2 separate regions of the Homo sapiens genome follow, and region 1 is linked to region 2. The links are contacts of gene promoters, found by promoter capture Hi-C in human tissues and cell types (Jung and others, 2019). All regions are on one chromosome and are shown on one strand. The core of a region is centred on a gene start or on the middle of the fragment in contact, and the rest is flanking DNA. Distances in the headings are between cores, read along the strand shown. Region 1 has its middle 51 kb from the start of PDLIM5. Region 2 holds the start of HPGDS (hematopoietic prostaglandin D synthase).

What was found. The method cuts DNA at HindIII sites, captures the fragments that hold promoters and counts their contacts. A contact is called where the count stands out against the background at its distance.
Region 1: a fragment that was not itself captured here is called in contact with the fragment with the promoter of HPGDS in region 2 in 1 of the 25 tissues and cell types used here (H1 embryonic stem cells).

The regions. Positions count from the first base shown.
Region 1 is chr4:94,397,805-94,404,114 of GRCh38, forward strand. No RefSeq gene overlaps it. Among named protein-coding and RNA genes, the nearest start is that of PDLIM5, 51 kb to the right of the region's middle. The HindIII fragment of the contact is 7,601 bases long and covers 1-6,310 here.
Region 2 is chr4:94,340,461-94,346,538 of GRCh38, forward strand. It overlaps HPGDS (hematopoietic prostaglandin D synthase), which reads right to left and starts at 2,376. Exons shown (of 6, transcript NM_014485.3): 1 at 2,335-2,376. The HindIII fragment of the contact is 13,227 bases long and covers 1-6,078 here.

The DNA.
Region 1 (6,310 bases), core at 1,751-4,250, 58 kb after region 2:
AAAATTCACCCCTATGATGCAATCATCTCCCACTAGGTCCCATCTCCAATACTGGAAATTACAATTCAACATGAGATTTGGATTGAGACACAGATCCAAACAATATCATCTTATTCAACTCATTCTTTTAATGTTGGTCTCCTTTGTGGTTATGTTTTAGGCCTTCTTTTCATTCTGCCCATCCTCCTGGATGGTTTGTTTGTTTGTTTTGCTTTGCTTTGAGACGGAGTCTTGGTCTGTCACCCAGGCTGGAGTGCAGTGGCACAATCTTGGCTCACTGAAACCTCTGCCCCCTGGGCTCAAGCTTCCCCAATAGCTGGGATTACAGGCGTGTGCCAGCACGCCTGGCTAATTTTTGTATTTTTAACAGAGATGAGGTTTTACCTTGTTGGCCAGGTTGGTCTCGAACTCCTGACCTCAAGTGATCTGCCCACCTTGGCCTCCCAAAGTTCTGGGATTACAGGCTTAAGCTACCATGCCCGGCCATCTGGATGGTTTTATTCATGCTCAGGATTTTAATTACAGTCTGTACGCTGATGACTTTCAGATCCTTTTCTGGAATATGAATTTCTCTCTAGTGCGCCGTATCCACATATGCAAAATAAATATTGCCACCATCCACTAGTTGGCCTGGAAGGAATTTCAGCATCGTCTTTCACTCTTCTCTCTCTCTCTTTCCCCAGTAACTACCAAGTCTTTTAGGGTTCACTTTCTAAATCTCTCTCAAGTCTGTCAACTTCTCTCAATCTCTTGATTTAAATCTCCGGCATTCCTTCTGGGATCCTTGCCATAGCTTCTTAATTATATACCTATCAGTATATCCCTGCTCTGATGATTTCCAAAGGCAGACAGAGTGATTTTTATACATCTGCCCCCTACTTAGAAATCGACAGTGACTCCTCATGGTTCCCAGGGTAAAGTTACAAATCCTAGTGAGGATGAGCATTGCCTTCAATACTTGACATCTCCAACCTCACCTCTTCTCACATTACCCCAGTCTCTAGGCTCACATCATGCTTTCTCTAACCTTTGGGGTCTTGTTTATGCTCATGTCTCTCTGCCCAAAATATTTTCCACCTTTCTTTTGCCCCCTCTTCCCTCCTCCATTTCTGATCTTGAACTTGTAACTCCTACTTATCCTTCAGTTCTTAGCTCAGATATTACTTTCACTTGAAAGTTTCCTGGGCCAAAAGATTGAATTGTATGTCTCTTTTATATGCTTCCATAGCACCTTGTACTTAATCTCCTCCTAAAACTGGTTATACTCCTGTACTGGGCTTATTGTAACTATCTATACACTCGTTTGTAGCCTATATAAGATGTAAAATGCTGCGTCGGGTCAGGATTGTGTCTTTTTTACTGTAACTTCTCTAGTAAATGCCTGGCACATGGCACATAATAAATATTTGTTATATGAATGAATGAATGAACGGTACAATTCAGAGATCAGCATGACCTTTTAAAAACATATAATCAATTGAAATGAAAGAATCTATATTCATTCACTTAAAGGATGGCATTCTAAGCCTGCTAATAGGTGAACAAATTCAGACAGGACAATAAATTACCTCTTCTTTTCTTTTTAATTTTTAAGACTAAAAAAACCCAACATTTCAGAGATGGGGTCTTGCTACGTTGCCCAGGCTGGAGTGCAGTGCTATTCACAGGTATGATCATAGGGCATTATAGCCTCAAACTCCTGTGCTCCCTATCTCAACCTCTCAAGTAGCTAGGATTACAGGTGTGCACCACCATGTCTAGTCTCTTTCTTCTTATGTAATTATAAAATGTTAAAATTAAATCATTAATGATTGAGGCTGCATCGGGGGTAGGAGGGAAGTTCCCTGAATAACCACAAGAATATACTAAACTTCACTTATTTTGAGGTTTGCAATTATTTAGAAGTTCTTATTTAGTAAGTAAGAGAAGATAATTTGCCTTTGCCAGTTCTAAGTACATATATAGTTGATTAATATAAACTGATTAACAAAGTAAATAGGAAAGTTAATAAAGAGCCCACTCCTCATTCTTGGCCTGGAGCTTCAGAACTGAATTTAAATGCTAACTGACATAAGCCCCATCTGTCATTTCTGGTCATCGCCTCAGTTCTATAAATAGGAAGAAGCCAGGACTTACCTCATTACTTCCAACCAGCAACTGTATGAAGTGCTAAGGAATAAAATTGAACCAGGGACAGTTAAGTGTGTGGGCCCCTGGAAGGAGTAAGATCTACATTAAAATAACAAGCATTGCAATTTCATTCTCTTATTTATACAAGGGGGAAAACTGCAAAATCATATAAGAAATTAAATTTTTTAGCATTTCAAGAGAAACATTTTCCTCCCCTACCCCAGTTCCAGTTACAGGGTAAATATTTTTTAAATCAAAATGGGAAACATTATTTTTTTCTTAAGAGAGTTTTCTTTGTATACTTAATCATAGCTTATTCTTATTAGAGCTACATACTTTGGACTTGTCTATGTTAAGAGAGTTTTCATGCAAGTGTGTTCTGATTATGATTTTGATAACTGATGTTGAGTAATGATTACAGCATTTTCAAAGCCTTTTGTTTGCCTTTGCGTTCAACACAAGGCGTAGATAGAAAACGAACAGGAAGGTTTTATCTTATCTGGCTACAGTTTGCATCAGCAACTGAAAGCATAGCATACTTTTAAAGAAAGTACCATTTTAACTAGAATTTTCTCTCCCTGACCTTTATTTAACCAATAATTTTATTACTGGGCTATATATTTATCCCTTTTCCCCTCAAATTGTGTCAACTGCAGTGAAGCTTAATATTTCTAACTTTGAATTCAATTTTTATATTTAAGAATATCTATCTAGGAAAGAGACTACTATCTCTGAGTCCAGTCTCTATCATATACACAAAATTAATTCATCCTTTAAATCTGTACTTCCTACTAAAATCAATACTTTGAAAAAGATGTTTAAATCAATTCCTAAAACACCTAACATAACCATTCATCTTCTTATGGCATTTGAAACTGAGCATTTGCCTAATTTCAGATTGTTTTGCTTGTTTTCGTTGTCTGTTTTAATAAAATAGTATCTTTAACAGCTTGTATAAAGTTCCTGTAAAAAAGAAAATGTTTCTCTTGAAATAGTAAATATCTCAAATTAGTCTGTAGCATTCCAGAGTTTTTCCAGAAAATGGTGTTTTCTTATTTGTACACAAATACAATGGTAATGAAGTCAGAGAATGTCAGATAAGTTTTAAGTGGGGTCACTACGCTATATTCCAGATGATCCCAAAGCTCAGTCAGCAGAGAAAAGTGCTGGTAACAAAGGAGATAACTGAATGGTTTAAGTTTAAATTTTGCTTCTCCTACCCCAGGGGAAAAAAATTGCAGCACCATTTCCCTCATCTGTTATCACTTACTAATTGCCAAGTAGATAGCTCTCCACTGCAGTGAGACCTCATTTTAGAGCAGAAGAGTAGGTCAATACTACACTATTGTTTGAGACAGAGTCTCATTCTGTCATCCAGGCTGGAGTGCAGTGGCTCAATCTCAGCTCACCACAAGATCCTCCCACCTCAGCCCCATAGGCACCGCGCCACAACGCCCAGCTAAATTTTGTATATTTCACAGAGATGGGGTTTTGCCATATTGCCCAAGCTGGTCTCAGATTCCTGAACTCAAGTGATCTGCCCACCTTGGCCTCCCAAAGTGGTGAGATTACAGGCATGAGCCACTGCAAGTGGCCTAACACTACATTATTTCTAAGAATAATATTGGAAATCATTTATTCTTAGAATCTACTTATAAATTTTGCATGTGTTAGAAAATCTGATAAGCCTAAAGATTCCCACATTCATTGCTGGCCACTCAGTCTACAGCCCTCACTGAACACTTCCTTGCTTTTTCCTCCCTAATACTCCACAGTGGACTGAAGAGTAAATGCTTTCGGATAATGAATGATGACAGTGGAGTTGATGGAGTAACTGGCAACTCATTCTTGATGTCCAATAGACCTTTCATTTTGAACAACAGTGACCTAGATCTTTTATAAATGAAATGCTTAAATTGGTGAGTAGTGGCTCTTACCTTTTTTTTTCTTTTTCTTTTAAATAAAAATTCCAAATGTGCTGAAAAGGTACAAGAATGGTACAACTCATCTTTTACCTTTTACTTAAGATTCACCAAATTCTTAGCATTTCATTGTAACTGTTCTTTCTCTTTCCCCTCTCCATATATATGTATGTATATGTACATATATGTGCACTTAGTAGTAAATTTAGTATGGTATCTTGTTGAATCTTTCTTTTACGGCATCATGGTATAATTACAAAATTCAAGAAATTTGACATTGATGAATTACTATTATCTAATATGCATCCCACATTCAGATCTTGCCAATTGCCTCAGTATTGTTCTTTACGGAAACTTCTTAAAAATTGGAGGTCCAATCCAGTATATGCATATCATGAATTCCATATCTTTTTAAAGAAAAATAAATTATCTTTTTTTGTTGTTTTTGGCTTTTCTTTTTTAAAACTTATATTTTATGTTCAGAGGTACATGTAGATGTTTGTTAGATAGTCAAACTCATGTCATGGGGGTTTATTGTACAGATTATTTCATCACGTACTAAGTCGAGTACCCAATAATTATTTTTTCTGCTCCTCTCCCTCCTCCCACCCTCCATCCTTAAGTAGGCCTCAGTATCTGTTGTTTCCCTCTTTGTGTCCATGTGTTCCCAACTTTTAGCTACCACTTATAAGTGAGAACATGCGGTATTTAGTTTTCTGTTCCTGCATTAGTTTGCTAAAGATAATGTCCTCCAGCTCCATCCATGTTCCTACAAAGGACATGATCTTGTTCTTTTTTATGGCTGCATAGTATTCCGTGCTGTATATGTACCACGTTTTCATGAGCAAATCTGCCATTGATGGGCATTTAGGTTGATACCATGTCTTTTCTATTGTGAATAGTGCTGCAATGAACATACCCGTGCATGCATCTTTTTGGTGGAACAATTAATATCCTTTGGGTACATACCCAGTAATGAGATTGCTGGGTTGAACAGCAGTTCTGTTTTTAGCTCTTTGAGGAATTGCCACGCTGCTTCCTACAATGGTTGAACTAATCTACACTTTCGCCAATAGTGTATAAGCATCTCCTTTTCTCTGCAACTTTGCCAGCATCTGTTATTTTGTTATGACTTTTTAGTAATAGCCATCCTGACTGGTGTGAGATGGTATTTCATTGTGGTTTTGATTTGCAATTCCCTAATGATCAGTGATATTGAGCTTTTTTTCATATGCTTGTTGGCCACATTATATGTTTTCTTTTGAAAAGTATCTGTTCATGTCCTTTGACCTCTTCAAAAAGATTTATCTTACCTAAAATTAGAAAATGCAGGTGATGGCCAGGCATAGTGGCTCACACCTATAATCCCAGCACTTTGGGAGTGGGCAGATAACTTAGGCTCAGGAGTTTAAGACCAGCCTGGGCAACATAGTGAAACCCCATCTCTACAGATAAAAATAAAAATAACTAGCCAGGTGTTGTAGTGTGTGCCTGTGGTCCCAGCTACTCAGGAGGCTGAGGTGGCAGAATCGCTTGAGCCCGGGAGGCGGAGGTTACAGTGAGCTGAGATCATGCCACTGCACTCCAGCCTGGGCAATAGAGTGAGACCCTGTCTCAAAAAAAAAAAAAAAGAAAGAAAGAAAAGAAAAGAAAATTCAGGTGATATTGTGTGTAAAGATTGTTAATCTCATCCTCATGGTACCAAGAAAACAATATTAAAATTATTATTTATCAAATATCAGTTATGAACCTAGCACTGTCTAAAATCTTGAAATTTTAGAAAAGATGTCATGGTTCTTGTCCTAAAATTACACACAGTATAGAAGCTGAAGCAAATCTAATACCCCAGTAAAAACTGGCTAATAAATAACCCTTACATTAGTTATATTTTGCAGCAAAATAAGCCACTCTTAAACTGTCCTCAGTTTTAAATTGCTAGACAGAAAAAAACAACATTTATATTTCTGGCTAGCAATTCTGTGAGTTAGCAATGCCAGCTGGCAATGTCAGTTGGCCAGTTCTTCTGCTGGTCTTTCCTGGGCTCAGACATTCAGCTGCATCTGCTGGTTGGGTTGGCTGGGGGTTAGTGGTTCTTAGGACAGCCACACTCATGTGTCTTGCAATTGGTGCTGGCTCTTGGTTAGTATTGGCCCTGAACTGGGAGACAGAGATGGCTGGGCTACATGTTTTCATCAACTTTTTCATTTAAGTGTCTTAGGGTTCTCACAAGAAGCAAGACAAGGCAAGCCCCAGTGCAT
Region 2 (6,078 bases), core at 1,126-3,625:
CCCGAGTAGCTGGGACTACAGGCACGCGCCACCACGCCCAGCTAATTTTTTTGTATATTTAATAGAGATGGGGTTTCCCCGTGTTAGCCGGGGTGGTCTCGATCTCCTGACCTCGTGATCCGCCTGCCTCAGCCTCCCAAAGTGCTGGGTTTACAGGGGTGAGCCACCGGGCCCGGCCCGCCCCCCTCCCTTTTTTTTTTTTTTTTTTTTTTTTTGAGACGGAGTTTTACTCTTGTCGCCCAGCCTGGAGTGCAATGGCGTGATCTCGTCTCACCGCAGCCTCTGCCTCCCGGGTTCAAGCGATTCTCCTGCCGCAGCCACCAGAGTAGCTGGGATTACAGGCACCAACCACCACGCCCGGCAAATTTTTTTCTTTTTTTTTTTCTTTCTTTTTTTTTTTTTGAGACGGAGTCTTGCTCTGTCGCCCAGGCTGGAGTGCAGTGGCGCAATCTCGGCTCACTGCAGCATCCGCCTCCCGGGTTCAAGCGATTCTCCCTGCCTCAGCCTCCCCAGTAGCTGGGATTACAGACGCCCACCACCGCGCCCAGCTAATTTTTGTATTTTTAGTAGAGACGTGGTTTCGCCATGTTGGCCAGGACCTCCTAACCTCAGGTGATCCGCCAGCCTCGGCCTCCCAAAATGTTGGGATTACAGGCTGAGCCACCTCGCCCGGCCAAACTTTTTTTTCTTTATAAATTACCCAGTCTCAGGTATGTCTTAATCAGCAGCGTGAAAACTAACTAATACAATGCTGATTTATTTCATCTGATTAATTCAATCCCAGAGGCAATTTTAACATAATCATTGAAAAAATTACAAACTTTTATAATAAAACAATTTAACAATATATTATTCCGTATACTGCTGTAAAAGCACAGTAAAAAATAGTCTCAAAAATTCTAGTCTCTGTGCCAGAAAGATGACAACAATCCAATTTCAACTCTCTGACAACACAGGCTAATCAATATCCAATGCCTATACTAAACATCTTAATAAAGACTTCAGCCGAAATATTTTTAGTTCAAAAAAGAGAACTTTTGGAATAATTTTGTTAGATAGAAAACTTACAAATGAGGAATTAAGTATTGACCATTCTACAGTTCAATACAAAATGTTAGCCAACGTAAGCTCTTACTCTTAAATACGACACATCAAGAATTCAAACATATTTGGGCATTCCAGACACAGTTTTTTACATGCTTAGTAATTGCGCAATAATCTGAGTTAGAGATATAAAAACAAAGATTACTTGTGAATTTGCTATAGCTCTTCTTTGAGTTTAAGATGCAGATCTTAACTTGCCCAGTAATAAACTTATACAAAATGTAATGGCCTAGAGCATGTTTACACTCCTATTATATAGACCCTGGTGTTCTGAAATGTAAAAATTGGATTCAGACAGCAATCATGTGAGATACTATTGTTCACAGGGGAACTTCTTGCATATACTGACATTAAAACAGCTTTTTATTACCCCTAACATTTGATGGTAAAGAATGTTAATTTCCCTCATTTCACAGTGTCCCTGGGCATTTCAAGTTCAATTCTGGAAAAGTTGCCAGGTTGGAGTTAAATTATAGGACAATAGAGAAATAGAAGAATTGTTGTTGACTGAGTAAGATATTGATTTCAATCAAGCACTGGATGTTTAACTTTGAATTAGCAAGCTGAAAGCTCTATTTTTTTTTTTTTTATCAAATATCAACTAAATGTCATTTTAAGTGACTGTTTCACATTAAAGCCAAAGCAAGAGGAATAACTGAAATATCCTTTGGGAGCTGTGAGTTGAAATTCCTGGCCTGGGGTAAATCCCTTAAACCATCTCTGAAGCCAAAAGATGATAGGTTGCAATTCTTATCAAAACATGGAGATGCTTCAACAAAATGTGCCTTAAAATAATATAAAATATTACCAGTAAAAGTCTTAAACTTTAAAGCAAAGGAAAGAAATTGAACAGCCATGAGATAATATTCTCTACTCCATCAATCCAAGTTATTGAAGAATCACTTGGGAAAATTCTGGAAGTAGTAACAAACCCTGATTAAGACAGGATTTTTCCTCTAGCATTGATTATATTTTCTATGTTAAAATCCACTTGAAGAGATCTTCTTAAATCTCCTGTACCTATATTTCCTTAAAAATGACTATTTGAGTTTCACATATTCGCATATATGGAGAGGTTCTGGGTAAGACAAGGTCAGAGTGAGCACCATCATGAAAATAGCTCACAAGACAGTTAGTCACAAACAGGATATGAGAATAATAAAAACTCTGAAGTAAAGAGTAAAGCATATCTCATTTATTACCTATGTGGAGTTCAGTAATATGACTTACCTGTGTTATGTCTCTCGGGAGTCTGCAGTGTCTTGTATCCCTGGGTATGTGACTGTGCCTTGGGTTTATATGACGAGTAAGTGATAATCACGAGCCAGTGAGAGGACAGGCAACTTCCTTCTACCTAACGCTCTTCCTTCTTTTCTTAGATAAAACATGCATGCCAGGCAGTTCAAGCCTGCGAAGACTGCTGGTTATACAGGATATCTGGGTATAAATAAACCAACACATTTGTATACAAGGTAAAGTCAAAGTTATAGCTGCATATGTATGCCCACTGTTACATGTTCACTTATTTTCAGTTTTACACCATAGGCTCCTGGAGAATAAGAAAACCTGAATGTAATGAAATCATCTTTGCAGATGTGCACATGACTTGCTTCTCTATTTTAGAAACAGTCTCTCCTGTACCTGCTGTATGTTCCTTCGAGGCAGTGTCTAACAATGTGGTGTATTTAACTTGTTTGTTTTTGGTTTCTCCCAGTGGAATGTAAGCTCTGTAAAGGCAGGCACTTCACTGTCTTTTTCACTATTGTCTCCTCAGTTCTAAGAGGAGTGCCAGGCATGTCATGACCACTAATATACATCTGATGATAGAATAACCCTAATTTATAGTTCACGTTTTTGCAAGGACTGTAAATTTGCATTGTTGCTGGTTTATTTCATTTACTCTCATTTCTCAGAAAAGCCAAAGTGTTTAAAGTAAACCTGGTGTAGAAGTTTCCAATTCATCTTGTTTGTGATCCTTTTACAATTTAGTAACAAATGCCTGACATTTTAGAAATTTATTGTTTCACTTCTTAGTGCAGGAATTATTTTTATCTATAATATTAGGACAGCTCAGTGAAAAGATCCAATAAAATGCCTGCCTGGGCCTTACTGAGCCTGAGGATTATCCATGAAACATTTCAATGACCAGCTGGCTTTCAACTTCCAGAAAATTACTCCCACAGGCAACAATAGCAACATATCAATCATTTAATATTTCTTATTTCTAAAGTGCTTTTAATTTTGAAAAATATGTTTACATCCACTTAGTATAAACGTCAGAAATGAAAATAAATGTAAATACTAGTATGTAAAAAGAGAAGACGCAAGTGTAGCCCTTTACCCACCAAAAAAGGATACATGTGTGTCAAAATCAAGTGCAAATGGGATGGGAGTGGGAGCTATACAAAATTAACACAATGCATTTATTATCTTTGACAGCTTTAACTTATATTTTCAAAAAAATCTTTTTATCCTCACCTCAATGATTTTTAATCCCTATTTTTATAAATGAGGAAACTGAGACATAGGGAAATTAGGTAAATTGCCTGCGAATTTTTGTTGGGACAAGCTAGGATTAAAATCTAGGCCTTCTGATGACACATTTAATATTTTTCCTTACATAATGCTGCCTATATATAATACGAGACTGCTTCAGTTAAAAAAAAATCAAGTATACAAAAAATAACACTTTTCTCATTTTGTATTACAATTTTATCTTTTACGACCAGTTGTTTTGGCTGGAGGAAAGCAGAGTAACACATCAAGGATTGGGGAAGGAGCAGCCACTTGATCCTTGGTCACCGATCAACAGAGGCTGCTCTAGAGGCATCCATTGTCCTTGTGTGCATGGCCTCCACGCCAGGAGCTCTCTGCAGCTCCTGTAGCATTCTCATTTTGCTACCTTCTTGCCCCAGTGTGGTGGTTTCATCACAACGCTGCCTGAGATTCCACCTGCCCAGTACCCAACAGAGCCACTTCTTCTCTGTGGTCTTTCTACCTCCCTGGAGGCACAAGAGGGTCCCAGGAGAGGGTCCCAGATCTCCTCTACTCGGGAAGCACAGCTTTCCCATCCTCTTGTCTCTTCTCCCAGCCCAGGTGGGGGTGCTCTAACTCTCCTAGTCTTCTACCAGCTGTGGGCCTTTGGGCAGGTAACTTAATCTCTCTGTGCCTGAGCTCCTTCACCTTTAGATGGAGATTGATTCTACAATAAATATTTATTTGTTCCTAATCTTTGCCAGGTATTGTTCTGAACGCTAGAGATATAGCAGTAAATAAGGCTGGGCGCGGTGGCTCACTCCTGTAATCCCAGCACTTTGGGAGGCCGAGGCAGGTGGATCACAAGGTCAGGAGATGGAGACCATCCTGGTCAACATGGTGAAACTCCATCTCTACTAAAAATACAAAAATCAGCCAGGTGTGGTGGCCCACGCCTGTAATCCCAGCTACGCGGGAGTGTGAGGCAGGAGAATCGCTTGAACCCGGGAGGCAGAGATTGCAGTGAGCCGAGAGCGTGCCACTACACTCCAGCCTGGCGACAGAGCGAGACTCCATCTCAAAAATAAATAAGTAAATAAATAGAGATATAGCACTAAATAAAATCAGACAAAAACAAATCTTCATGGAGCATTCTAACAATATTAGTAATAACTCTCTCATAAGCTTTTACAGAATTAAATGAGTACACAGATATGTGCTTCAAAGTGTGCCTAATGCATAGTTAGGGATCCATGAGTGAGAGCAATTGTTAATATTATTAGCAGTTCACCTGAAGGGAAAATCGTTTCCCTTCAAGAATCTATGCTCAAGAATTCTTTCCTTTTCTGTGGTTGGGTTTGGGCACTAACAGCAGAAAGAGAAGTAGCTGTCAGGCAACTTTCATTTTTCACCCTGCTTCATCCTCTTCTGAGGAAATGAGCACGGAGCCAAGTGTCTACTGGAATAGGGAGGAGGAAAAGGGCAAGGGCAAAGTGAAAACCCCTCATGGATTGTTACCTCTCAGTTCCCTGCTCTCCAGGGCAGTGACTTCTTCATGCCACACACCCTTCAGGAGCATGTTGTGGATCCAGACTGGACTGCATGAGAAATACCCGTGAAAAAACGTGTCAAGTTGTATGATCATGTCCACACAGTCATTTAAAGGCCTATTATAATTTAATAAATATGTCTTCATTTTCTCTGGGGCTTCCTAGTTGGAAAACTTTTAATCCTGTGGTATTGAATTAGCAAATTCCTAACTGCTGTTAAAAATCCAACGTTAAATCATAGTCCATTTCTGTCCTTGTTTTCTTTATTTGCCCACCTGTGTAGTAATGTGACTATACAAGATAGTGATTAAAGAGTTTCATCCTGGAATCATGACCTCTTAGAGGAATCTCCACTCCATTATTTGCAAGCTCTGGGACTTTAGGCAGCTGCCTTAGTTTCCTTATCTGTAAAATGGTGATGATAAAAATCATTCTACTCAGAGTTGAAAGGATTCAATGAGTTTGTGCATTTAAGTCACTTAGTGCCTTGCTTAGCAAGCAGTTGCTCGATAAGTAATGGAAAAACACATACAATTTTTAAAACGTGGCCCACATATTTGTTCCTCTTTATTTATTTTTGTAAAAGAGAAGTGTTCAAACAAACCTATTTCTCCTTTTCTAGCTTGTCTGTTGATGGGGAAGGGGAGAAGTATCCAGGAGAAGCCCACAAAACTTCCTTTGCTCAGATTCTAGAGTGGTCTGGTTTACTTTTGTATATTTTATTTAATAAAACAGTTTTCCTTTTTATAGTTAGTTATTTGAAAAACTAAAAACATGTAAAAGTGACGTATTTAAACCTGGGGTTGAAAATACAGGAAATAAAGAATATGTTTTTCTGCTTCTAACCTACTTGAGTAATTGAAACATGCCTGCAAATATTTTAGTGTCTGTGTTTTCCCAGATTTCAATAATGATAATGCTATTATCTGAAGTCTGCCTCTTCAGATAC